2 separate regions of the Homo sapiens genome follow, and region 1 is linked to region 2. The links are contacts of gene promoters, found by promoter capture Hi-C in blood cells and fetal thymus (Javierre and others, 2016). All regions are on one chromosome and are shown on one strand. The core of a region is centred on a gene start or on the middle of the fragment in contact, and the rest is flanking DNA. Distances in the headings are between cores, read along the strand shown. Region 1 overlaps LEMD1 (LEM domain containing 1). Region 2 holds the start of CDK18 (cyclin dependent kinase 18).

Evidence for each region. The method cuts DNA at HindIII sites, captures the fragments that hold promoters and counts their contacts. A CHiCAGO score of 5 or more calls a contact.
Region 1: a contact is called between a fragment that was not itself captured here and the fragment with the promoter of CDK18 in region 2, in 1 of 17 cell types (endothelial precursors). The highest score is 5.6, in endothelial precursors.

What each region holds. Positions count from the first base shown.
Region 1 is chr1:205,377,697-205,384,032 of GRCh38, reverse strand. It overlaps LEMD1 (LEM domain containing 1), which reads left to right. Exons shown (of 6, transcript NM_001199050.2): 6 at 2,177-2,655. The coding sequence ends at 2,375. It overlaps LEMD1-AS1 (LEMD1 antisense RNA 1), which reads right to left. Exons shown (of 4, transcript NR_038425.1): 2 at 4,708-4,979; 3 at 1,889-2,006. It overlaps LOC105371698 (a long non-coding RNA gene), which reads left to right and starts at 5,383. Exons shown (of 3, transcript XR_922462.2): 1 at 5,383-5,601; 2 at 5,724-5,752. The HindIII fragment of the contact is 1,231 bases long and covers 1,072-2,302 here.
Region 2 is chr1:205,501,496-205,508,076 of GRCh38, reverse strand. It overlaps CDK18 (cyclin dependent kinase 18), which reads right to left and starts at 3,408. Exons shown (of 16, transcript NM_212502.3): 1 at 3,281-3,408. RefSeq lists an enhancer at 831-1,484. The HindIII fragment of the contact is 14,965 bases long and covers 1-5,607 here.

The sequences.
Region 1 (6,336 bases), core at 438-2,937, 120 kb after region 2:
TCTCCTGATGTGTAGCCATTTGGAAACATTTCTTTCTATTTGTGCCTTGGAAGGTGGGCAAGAGGCAAAAAAAAAAAAAAAAATGTAAAGGATATAAGGCCGGGTGCGGTGGCTCTTGCCTGTAATCCCAGCACTTTGGGAGGCTGAGGCAGATGGATTGCCTGAGGTCAGGAGTTCGAGACCAGTCTGGCCAACATGGTGAAACCCCATCTCTACTAAAAACACAAAAAAATTAGCCAGACGTGGTGGCATGCGCCTGTAATCCCAGCTACTCGGGAGGCTGAGGCAGGGGAATTGCTTGAACCAGGGAGGCGGAGCTTGCTGTGAGCCGAGATCATGCCACTGCACTCCAGCCTGGGTGACAGAGCGAGACTCTGCCTCAAAAAAAAAAAAGAAAAAAGAAAAAAAAAAAAGGATATAAATACACAGTTAAATAGGATAAATAAGACCTAGGGTTCAATAGGTCAGAAGAGTGGCTTTAGTTAACAATAACCTATTGAACACTTCAAAATAGCTAGAAGAGAATAATTTAAACATTCCTAGCATAAAGAGAAGATAAATATTTAAGGTGGTGGATATCCTAATTACCCTGATTTGATCTTTACACATTATATGAAGGTATCAGAATAGCACATGTTGGCTGGGCACAGTGGCTCATGCCTGTAATCCCAGCATTTTGGGAGGCTGAGGTAGGAGGATCACTTGAGGCCAGGAGTTTGAGATCAGCTTAAGCAAAATAGTGAGATCCTGTCTCTACAGAAAAATTTAAAAATTAGCCAGGCATGGTGGTATGTGCCTACAGTCCCAGTTACCTGGGAGGCTGACGCAGAAGGATTAGTTGAGCCCAGGAGTTCAAGGCTGCAATGCAGTGAGCTATGATCACGCCACTGCATTCCAGCCTGGGCAACAGAGTGAGACCCTGTCTCAAAAAAATATGTATGTAATATAAAATTACATATACCCTCAAATATGTAAATCTATTATGTATCAATTTTTAAAAACGAATAAAAAGAGTAAGTAGTTCAAATAAAAGCTCAAGACAGGCAATTGTATTAGTCAGAAAGTAAAGCTTTCTGGAGAGTTTCCTAACTTCTGAATAAACTTCAGCAGGTTTTGCAGAATTAGGCTAGTGGAAACATAAGGCTCTTGCAAAAAAATTTCAGAAAGTACTCTTGCCTTTTTAAGTGCAAAATAAGCAGATTGCAAAGGCGCTTTTCCTCTCCACCCTGAAAGGTGGTGTTTGTACTTGAGAAGGGAGGAAGGAGGGGGCCTGAGTACTGAGGCTTCCCATCCACTTATACAATTTCCCAGCGAGGACTTGGGGATCTGCAAGGCCTGTGCCAAGTCAGGCTTTATGCCGGCATTGAGAAGTGATACACAAGTGGGTGGAAACAATGAAGAAATGTTTTGTGGGATTTGAGAGACCTCATATCCCCCAATACGCTGTTAGTATCACTTGTTGAAATTAGAGACTGGGCACAGTGGCTCACGCCTGTAATCCCAGCACTTTGGGAGGCTGAGGTGGGAGGATCCCTTGAGCCCAGGAGTTTGAGACCAGCCTGGGCAACATGGTGAGCCCTCGTCTCTACAAAAAAATTTATTTTTTAATTTTTTTGGAGACAGGGTCTCATTCTGCCACCCAGGCTGGAGTGCAGTGGCACAATCATAGTACACTGCAGCCTCAAACTCCTCGGCTCAACTGATTCTCCCATCTCAGCCTCCATGCCCAGCTAATTTTTATATTTTTTGTAGAGACAGGGTTTCGAACTCCTGGGCTCAAGCAGTCTGCCTGCCTTGGCCTCCCAAAGTGCTGGAATTACAGGTGTGAACCACCACACCTGGCCTACGAAATTTTTTTTTTTAATTAGCTGGGGGTGGTGGCATGTACCTGTGGTCCGAGCTACTCGAGAGGCAGACGTGGGAGGATGTCTTGAGCCCAGGAGGTTAAGGCTGCAGTGAGCTGTGATTGTACCACTGCACTCCAGCCTGGACAACAGAACAAGATCCTGTCTTAAAAGAAAAAAAAAGAAATTAGCCTAGGTTTTTAGTAAGGAGAGGCTACCTCTAAAGCCCCACCATGACTGCACCCTTGGGCTTCAAGACCCACACACTTTAAGGGGCTACTCAAGTGCACCACAGCTGTCCACAATCCTAAGAGCCACTGATGTTTTCACAGGTGGGCTGCAAGAGCACCAAGCACCAGAATCACATATGGGACTATCACCAAAGAGAGAGACTACTGCGCGGAAGACCAGACTATCGAGAGCTGGAGAGAAGAAGGTTTCCCAGTGGGCTTGAAGCTTGCTGTGCTTGGTATTTTCATCATTGTGGTGTTTGTCTACCTGACTGTGGAAAATAAGTCGCTGTTTGGTTAAGTAATTTAGGAGCAAAGCAATGCTCCAAGCGAGGCCTCCTGCTTCAGGAAAGAACCAAAACACTACCCTGAAGGGCCAGCCTAGCCTGCAGCCCTCCCTTGCAGGGAGCCTTCCCTTGCACTGTGCTGCTCTCACAGATCGGTGTCTGGGCTCAGCCAGGTGGAAGGAACCTGCCTAACCAGGCACCTGTGTTAAGAGCATGATGGTTAGGAAATCCCCCAAGTCATGTCAACTCTCATTAAAGGTGCTTCCATATTTGAGCAGGCGTCAAACAAGGAAACTGTCTGGCGTTTTTCTTTCTAAGTATGGTGACAAGCCATAGGTCGCATTTTATTCACTCCTCCAATTGTATAGCCAATTCTGGGAAACAGCTAATTTACAGCAGAAGAATGTGTCTAGTTTAGTAAACACAAAGAAATGTCCAACACCATGAAAACAATTTAGAACAGGATAGCATTTTTGCCTTTGAAACTTAGCAAGGTTCTAAAAAATTACCATCTGACAAAGGAATGTAATAACCATGGCCTCAGGGACCAGGCAGAGCTGTGTAGGCACCCGGCTCCTCTCTTTATCGGCCCTGTGACCTTGGGTGAGTTAGTTGTCCTCCTGGAGTTTCAATTTCAGCTTTCAAAAATAGGGGTAGAATAGGCCTCTTAGGGTGATGAAGAATTTGAGGAAATAATGTGAGTAGTGGACTTAGTGTGGTCCACACCTGACTTGTAGCAAGCACTCAATAAATGCTTAAGCAATGTTACACTTTGGCACAATATGGGAGGAGCTAATTCTAGGTACAAAAAAGCACCAAAGGCTGGGCATGGTGGCTCACGCCTGTAATCCCAGCACTTTGGGAGGCCGAAGTGGGTGGATCACTTGAGGTCGGGAGTTCAAGACCAGCCTGGCCAACATGGCGAAACCTTGTCTCTACTAAAAATACAAAAAATTAGCCGGGTGTGGTGGCGCATGCCTGTAGTCCCAGCTACTCGGGAGGCTGAGTCAGGAGAATCACTTGAACCCAGGAGGCAGAGGTTGCAGTAAGCAGAGATCGTGCCACTGCACTTCAGCCTGGGCAACAGCCCGGGCTCATGATCCACCTGCCTCGGCCTCCCAAAGTGCTGGGATTACAGGCATGAGCCACCATGCCCAGCCTGAAAATGCTTATTTAAAAATTTTTTTAAAAAATAGCTTTATTGTGGAAGGCTGAGATAGGGGAATTGCTTGAGTCCAGGAGTTCAAGGCTGCAGTGAGTTGTGATCACACTACTTCACTCCAGCCTGGGCCCTATCTCTTAAAATATATATATGTAGAGAGAGAGATAAATAATTTATATGCCATATAATTCACCTACTGAGGGTTACAGTTCAATGATTTTTAGTATATTCATAGGGTTATGCAATCATTCCCGCAATAAATTTTAGAATATTTTCATCATTCCAAAAAGAAATTCTTAAGGTGCTCATTTTAATGGTAAACAAAAAAGGACACAAATTTGTTGTACCATATTATCACAACTGCACAACACTGGAAGAAAATATGTCAAAATGTTAAGAGTACTTCGGTGACTGGAGCTCTAATTTTTCCCCCTATTTCTACTTTTTAAATATTTTTAAAGATTTCTGTAAGTAGTGTGTATCAGTTTGCTAATGAGAGAATATAAATATTAATTTTTAAAAATTGCATTCTGTCTGGATGTGGTGGCTCATGCTTGTAATCCCAGCACTTTGGGAGGCTGAGGTGGGAGGATCGCTTGAGGCCAGGGGTTTGAGACCAGCCTGGACAACATAGCAAGATCCTGCCTATAAAACAAAAAAAGAAGAAGAAATTTTTGAAAAACTGCATACTGTATTACAGTTTGAATGCAAGGATCATAAAACTCTAGTAAGACTGGCTTAAACAGAGATTTATTTTTATCTCATAAAAAGAAGTCTAGGGCCAGGCGCTGTGGCTCAACCCTGTAATTCCAGCACTTTGGGAGGCCTAGGTGGGAGGATCACCTGAGGTTGGAAGTTCAAGACCAGCCTGACCAACATGGACAAACCGTGTCTCTACTAAAAATACAAAATTAGCCAGGCGTGGTGGCACATGCCTGTAATCCCAGCTACTCGGGAGGCTGAGGCAGGAGAATCACTTGAACCCGAGAGGTGGAGGTTGCGGTGAGCCAAGATCATGCCATTGCACTACAGCCTGAGTTTTTTGAAACTCCGTCTCAAAAACAAAAAAAAGTCTAGAGTTTAAGATGTCCAATATTGTTTAAAATGACCAAAAATGTAATATAATTCTGATTCAAACAAACCAGCTGCAGAAAAAATTATGATCAAGGAGATGCGAAACTGACCCGATTCTTGGTGGTATTCAGAGAGGTTTGGTCTGACTGAGCTGCAGCAGCTGTCCGACTCCCAGGGGAAAAAGCGAAAGGCTGAGAGAATCCCAGACACTGGCCTGACACGTTGGAACTGCCGAAATTCCATGAAGGATCCAGATAATGGCCATCACATCATCATTTAAGGCAGGACGTAAGGACTAACCATGTCTCTTCTCCAGCTCTACATATTTCATCCTGAGCAGCAAGGGAGGCTGAGAAAGTGGGCGCTGGAGCCTTGGCAGCCTCTGTGTTAGAAGAGGGAGAAGAGGATTGGTCATAGGAGTAAGCAGAGCCAACCTACAGTGGTGGCCACATGCACTTAAAAAAGAAAACTTCTGTTGTGTTGTTTGGTTTGTTTGTTTTGAGACAGGGTCTCACTCTATTACCCAGGCTGGAGTGTGGTGGATCACCGCAACCTCCACCTCCCGGGCTCAAGTGAACCTCCCACCTCAGCCTCCCGAGTAGCTGGGACTACAGGCATGTGCCACCATATCTGGCTAATTTTTTTTGTATTTTTTATAGAGATGGGGTTTCACCGTGTTGCCCAGGCTGGTTCCGAACTCCTGGGCTCATGTGATCCTCCCAAAGTGCTGGGTTTACAGGCGTGAGCCACTGCGCTCCACCAATACTTCCGTTCTTAATAAAACCAAACATGATAAAAAATAAAACTTCTAGAAAGTTTCCTCCATTATTTTCAACTTTTCCCAGTTCTTTTATGTTAGAATTCTGGAATCAGTTTAAAGAGACTGCACAGACAATTACTTTTGTGTCTGACCATTCAAGGTGTGAGTTCCCAACCAGCAGTATCAGCATCTCAGGCTCCGTCCCAACTACTGAGCCAGAATCTGCATTTCAACAGGATCCCAGGTGATTCCTACCCAAATTAAAGTTTGGGAAGCATTGTGGTGGCCCATCCCTATCAGATGCTGTGATATAGTGATATAATAAAAAATTTATATTTTGTCTCTGCCCCGGTTCCTGGCACACAGTTCCTAAAACTGTTGGAATCTCCTGAATGGTAAGTGTCTTTTTTATGCTATTTGACATGACTGGTGGCTGGCGGCCACTAGATAGCTTCAGGATGGGGACAGGTCACCAGAAAGATCAAGGCAGGATTCTAGGGTTAGAACTTTCAGTCCCATCCCCCCAAACTCCAGGAAAGGGAGATGAACTGAAGGTTAAGTCAATCATCAATGGCCAGTGATTTAATCAATCTTGCCTCCATAATGAAGCCGCTATAAAAACCCAGAAGGAGTGGGTTCAGAAGCAGGTTCTGGGTAGCTGAACCTGTGGAGATGCCTGGAGGGTGGAGTGCTAGAAACAGCGCGGAGCTCCGTGCCCCTTCCCACATGCTTCACCCTGTGCATCTCTTCCATCTGAATGCTCATCTGCACCCTTTATTATTAAACCAATACATGTAAGGGAAGTGTTTCCCTTAGTTTTGTGAACCACCCTGGGAAATTAATCTAACCCAAGGAGAGGGTCCTAGGAACCTTGATTTATAGTCGGTTGTTCAGAAGCACAGGTCACAATGTAGGGTTCTTAACTGGCATTGGAAGTGGGGGGCAGTCTTCTGAGACTGAGCCCCGAACCTGTGGGATC
Region 2 (6,581 bases), core at 2,159-4,658:
TAATTAAGTACCAGGGGAGGGTCCTCCTACCTCAGGGAAAGAAGGCGCTGCCAGAGGGCCCTCAGAGCAAGAGACTGCTGCCTCTCCAGCTCCCAGTGCCTGCCTCATTCATAACTGCCAGAAGGTAGGGCCCCCACAGCACAGATTCCTGGCCCCTCCTGGAAGATTTCCATCCAACCCATTCCCCTACCACCACCACCATTCTCTTACACAGAGCCCTCCTCCCTAACCTGGAAGAGCAGTAAAGATTCTGTCTAACTAAGGGCTTGGCCTGATGGGGCTGGGAAAATCTACCTTGGTCTCTAGACCAGCCCTGGTGCAATCACCAGGAAATTCCCTTTCCAAACAAGCACCACCAACCACTATAGCTACCAGTTATTTAGTCTCTGCTACATGCCAGGCACTGTGCATTATTTTTTTTTTTTTTTTTTTTTTTTTTTTTTGAGACGGAGTCTCGCTCTGTCGCCCAGGCTGGAGTACAGCGGTGCAATCTCGGCTCACTACAACCTCCGCCTCCCGGGTTCACGCCATTCTCCTGCCTCAGCCTCCCGAGTAGCTACAGGCACCTGCCACCACGCCTGACTAATTTTGTGCTTTTTTTTTTTTTTCAGTAGAGATGGGGTTTCACCATGTTAGCCAGGATGGTCTCGATCTCCTGACCTCGTGATCCGTCCACCTCGGCCTCCCAAAGTGCTGGGATTACAGGCGTGAGCCACCGCACCCAGCCTAAATCTTATAACAGCCCTCTATTATGATCCTCATTTTACAGATGAGGGAACGGATGCTGGGAGAAATTCACGAGTGTGCTAGTGAGGGGAAGGTCACATAGCTACTATATGCTGGAGCTGGATTCCACCAAGGCCAGAAGTTTGCCCTCCCCTTTAGTTCTCAAGCTCAGTTAGAGAAGAACAGAAGGAATCAGAGGACAGGTAGATGGAGATGCTGGACAAAAGTCCCAACAGGGTGATCCCAGAAAGTAGAGGCTTGGTTAGGGTAGGAACCGGGAAGAGTCAAGCCGGGCTCTGCCCTACAGTGTAGGACGCATTCCCGAGTGCGGGACGGCCCAAGTAGGCAGAGGACAGAGTCCGAGTCTGTAGAGGAAGCAAATGCACCCTGAAAGGCAGCTCCATGTCCTCTAGACCTGAGCGGGGGTTTGCAGGGCTGGCAACCTGATCCCACGAGATCTCAGACCAAGAACCTATTTGCTCCTCAGATCTGGTGCCCTCTCTCCTGTGCCCCATGGAGAAGCCTGGCTCTGCCTAGTGCAGGACAGACAGATGGGAGCCTCAATATTTGGAGCATCACCCCCATTCTTTCTTCTCCTGAGGACTGACGCAGACCAGAGAACTCCAGAGTGGGCCGGAACCTCCCCACAATGGGGCAGGGGTTAACAGCAGGGGCTTGGGGTCAGACGGAAGTGGGCTGGATCCCACCTCTGTGTGACCTTGGAAAAGTTGGTCTCTCAGAGACTCAGTTTCTTCACCTGTAAAATGGGGATGATAATAATACCTACTTCATAAAGTTGTGACGCACTGCTTGGCGCACAGTAGATATTCAACAAATGGTGGCCACTAAGGCTTGTCTACTCTGCCTCTGGCACCCCCGATAAGTTTGGGAAGAACTTCTTCTGGCACGCGTGGAGAGCTTCTTCCATTCTCCTGGCAGGGTATGGGGAGAGTCCTGGGGACCCAGTGGGGAGAGTCCTGGGAACCCAATGGTCAGGTACACCCCAGATTAAGGGTGGGGGAGGGGTCAGCCCCACAGCCTCCTCAGCTGCACAAGAGGTGGCTGGGAAAGGGTAACCCGAGATAGCAGCTTTGCTGTGGCAAGGTGACCCTCTCTCTGGAACGCCTTCAGGATGCAAACCCGGACCTGGAGCCAGTGTCGCCCTGTACTCCACCGACCCTCAGCACCCTCAGCACCGTTTTCCCAGGCCCCTCCCAAGGCCAGGCTAAAGGCAGGGGATCTCTGAGGACGTGCCAGTCCACCAGGCGCTCCAGGCATCCTCTCAGGCCCGTGTCCAGGAATGTGCTGCATGCCCATGCCCGGGTGGGGAATGCCACGCGAACATGCCGAAGCTCACTGGGTGCTGACACAGGAGGGGCAAGCCGGTGGTGTTAGTGAGTCACAGGGCCCAGGCTACAGCTGGGGAACTGCCGAGGGCTGGGCTAGGGGTGGGGAAGAAGGGGAGACAGTAGCAGATAGCGCGGAAGAGGTTCCAGGGCCTCTCACTCCCACAGTGTCAATCCTCCCACCCCGACTGCCGGGAGGTGCCCAGAGAGAATGAAGAGAGGCAGGGCTGGTGCCTAGGAGGGTGCTGACCCTGCAGCACAGAAAACCCCTCACTGTTTCTGCAGCCCAACTCCCACCCAGCACAAGGTCTGCAGACACCTTCAGGGAATCCCCGCCCCCCACAGGGCGAAAACAGAGGCCTCCAGTCCAGACCCGATTTTGGATTTCAGATTCCTGATGGTGTCCCTCAACTACAGCAGAATCCTCAAGGCACATCTCCTTAGCCCAACAGGTCACCGCCCACTCCCCCCGGCCCCACCCAGCCTCCTTTCCCTCTGCTGCATTAACCCTCTGTCGCCTGTTGATGAGGGGTGGAGGGGGGCACTGCCCCTTTGGTCTTCCGGGGTGGAAAGAGAGAAGCAGCAGCATTCCCCAGACCCCTGCCTCCCCCAGAACTGGGACCTGCAGGGCTTCACGTGTCCTTCCACGTTCTTCCCAGGGCTCCGGCCTCCCACCCCCTGCCTGCCGCTCTGGAAAGTTCACCAGAGCCCAGGAAGCCCTTCAAGGCAGCGATGTGGCCCCACACTCTCGGGTCCTTTGGTCCCTGGAGACTCCTGACCCTTGCCCTTCCCAGAATGAAGGGAGCTTAGAAAGCGCCTGGTTCCGGACTGGGTGGAAAACTTTGCTTTGTAGGGTTCAGACGGGAGCCCAGGGGCCAAAGTGATCCCAGATGGAGACTCCCTAAGGGGGCGCGGGGTCTGAGATTGCAAAATAACCCTCCCTCTCAAGCACCTGGAACTTACGAGTGGCCTTTCGAGGGCACCCCCCACCCCTCAACACACAACACAGTATCACACAGATCACGCCTCGTGATCTCTGCTCTCCCCTCGCCGCTCCGGTATTTCCCTCCAACCTCTCGCCTCAGGGCAAAAGCAAAACTGCGCCTTTAAGAGCCGTTCCGCTTACCTTTGCTCCTTATACCCGGCGCCGCGGTGCCCGCTCCTCCGACCTCCCCCTTCCTCCCAGGCGCACCGCCCGCGGGACTCACAGCGCGTGTCCTGGGGGCCGCGGTGCGCCCGCTCCCTCCCGGGCACGGGGCAGCTTCCCCTGCTCCGGAAAGGTGAGCAGTTCCCCAGAGAAGCTGCAACCTGAGCTGGCCGAGGAGGAGGTAGAAGGGGAGGGGAAGGGAGGGAGTGGAGGAAGGTGGGGAAGAGGAGGGAGGAGGAGGAGGAGGAGGAGGAGGAAGGAAAATGCCCGGCCCCCGCCAGAGTTTTTCACATGTACAAGTTGACTCCGCCCCCGGCCCTCCCGCCCTGCCCACAGCCGCTACCAATCCCCAGGGCTCCCTCTGCCCGGGTGCCCACCCCTTTCTCCCACTCTGGGAACCAGGGTCCAAGTGCCTCTTCCTGTTTCGTTTCTAAAACCGGCCCTGAGAGCCTTGGCTAGGGGATGAGGCCTTCTGGACTGGATCACCCCAGGACACCAAGGCGCCAGGGGTACACTGAGAGTGCCTGCCTGTCTCTAAAAGCGGTGCTCCTACCTCTCCTAGGTACCTCCCTGTACCTGGCGCCCTAGGAACGAATGTGCATGGACAGATTTTGGTGGTCATTTTCTTGACAATAGTAGCCCTCGGGCTCCCCTTCTACCCTATCCAGTGGGACTTGTCACTTACCTTTCCGGACAAAGTTCCCACCTCTCCAGGACCTGAATGAAGCCCTTGTTACCAGCCATCATTCACATTTCCCTCCCCGAAGGATAATTCAACTTGTCCTTTTGGAATTAAACTCCACAGGATATTTGAGAATCATCCAAGAAGGGTTACAGAATGGCTAGTTCAGCTAGTGGCACTCTCATTTTACAGAAGGGGAAACTGAGGCCCAGCAAAGCAATTGAACTGGCCTAAAGTGCCACAAGAGTTCATGGCGAGCCATGATTAGAACTCAGGCCAATGGCCATTGCACCCACATCATCTGACTTCAAGGATCAAAAAAAAAAACAAAACAAAAATCTGGGGATGGGGGTGAAGGGCACAGTGCCCCACCGCCAGGCCCCTCTCATCTCTGCTTCCTCCTGAGGGCTGTGAGGAGAGGAGGTGTGCCTTGGCTCTATGGCACCTCATCAAGGCAGTCTGTGTCCCCTGCCCTACCAGAGGGCTTGGCTGCTGCAGTCTGGGGTCTCCCACAGGGAAAGTCTCCTTAGGAGGGGGTGCTCCACAGTGTACATGTGCTTCTACCTGAACCCTTTCCCTGGGGACTGTGAGTTGTTGAGAATAGAACAGTTTCCTTCTGGAAGACATGGGCCTGAGGTCCCACTGTCAGCTGGAGACAGGAGAATGAAGGAAGACACTGGGCCCATGCATGAAAGTGACCTGTGGGTAGTTGACATCTCACAGAGGGCCTCCCAACTCTTTTTTTTTTTTTTACCTCGCTTTCTCTGCCAAGGCATGCAGATTTCCTGGGCACAGCACTTCCTAAAAATGAAACTGCCAAGTGTTGTCGGGGTGCATGGATCCAGAGCCTTTAGGTGTGCAGCAACCTCCTGGCTCTGTAGTCCAGTGGATGGTGAGAAGCCTGGGGAGCAGGAGGCCATAAAGAGGTTTGGAAGGGGCAGGGAGGGAAAGGGAGAAGGACTATGGCCAAGGAACTGTTTACTGGCGGATTAGAGAGAGTGGGGCCAAAGGGTAGAATTTCAAGGAACTAGGGGGGTGAAGTCAAGAGGTCTCCACAAACACTTTCTCAACATCTCTTATGTGCCAAATGATAGCCAGGGCTCTGGGCACATAAGATGAGTATAACCCAGTCCCTGCCTTCAAGAAGCTCTTGGTGTAATGCGGCAGGGAAGCAAACAGTTAGGATGCTATAGGAGGAGGCTTAGTGTTACGGATGCCTGGGAGGAGCTATTCTGCTTGAGGTGAGGGTTACAGGATGAGGGGACAAGAGAGAGGAGGAAGGATTTTCCCTGTTTTTTCCAGGAGGGGTAATCCCTTGTGCAGAGTGCAGGGGTGACAGAATATGGACCCACAGTTCCATGAGGTCAGAACTTAAAGTCTGGGGTGGAGGTGACACTGTAGAGGCAGGCAGGTGCTGGGTCCTGAAGACCCCCAACGTGGAGGCTGATCCTAGTGGAAAATGAGAATGAGCTTAGACCACACAGCGGCAGCAGGGAGGAGAGGAGGGAACTGATTTGAGAGATAGGTAGGAGACAGGGTCATGGAGCCTTGTGACTATTGGATTCTAGAAGATAAGGGAGCCAACAGTGTCAAGATTAGAAGCACTGATGTGATAGGCTGAGTGGGACCTTGGAGCTTCTTAAGTGAGCCTTGATTCCCAGCACCTCCTTAGATTGCTCTGTGAACTTGGGCAAGCGAACTAAGCTTTCTGAGGCCATCTGTAGAACAAAGTTGCTAAAATCAATCTTGTATGGTTGTTGTACATATTAGGGTAATGTATGCTAAGGGCCTGGCATAGGACTTGGCTCATAATGGAGAACTCAATAGATAGTAAATATAATTACCATCATTCATGCATTCAACAAACATTTATTGAACACCTGCTATGTGACAAGGACTATACTGGATCCTTGCATTGGATAGATGATTTTAAGTCTCAGTTCCTATTCTCATGTAGTTCACTGTTCAGGTGGAGAAAGATATGCAGAGGCAGTCACCTACCAAGGCAATATGGGCTGAGCAGAGGAAGAAGCCCTTAACTCTGCCCAAGAGAATTTGGGACAGCTCCACAGAGGAGAGATGACAGCTGAAATGATGTAGGGCCAGCCACCTGCTCAGAGCCTGTCACATCACCCCCTGCCCCACCACCACCACATGGGATTGCTTCAGAATCTCTGAAAGCTTCAGTTTTGAAGCATCGTCTTGGTTCTCAGGGTTGAAGGAAGAGGATGAACTGCAGGTGGGCATCTATATGGAGCCCAGAGAATGGCACAACAAGCTTTGGCCACCCCAGGAAAGGGCAAGTGCAGATGGGAGGTGGGAGGGGGGAACCAGATAAGAGTGACCCTGGGCAGGGCTTACTAGCTGGATAGGGAGTCCATGATACCCAGTCATACACATCAGTGGCCTGTGTATGTGTGCTCTTTGGGTCAGCCTAATTTTTCTGCTTCTCATCTGTACCATTTCAAAAATTCCCTCTGAACCCCTTGGTGTCCCCTGCCCTCCGATGCCAACTTTCTTTCTGTGCATCTTGCAATAAGCCAAACACAGTAGAAGCAGCACTACCTAGGACTTCCACTAAGGAGGGGCTCCTTCCCTGCTGCCTTACCAAGCAATACTTTGAGCTTTAAAGCCATGTAAACTGTGTGACCTTGGGCAGTTACTGACATATCTGACTTCC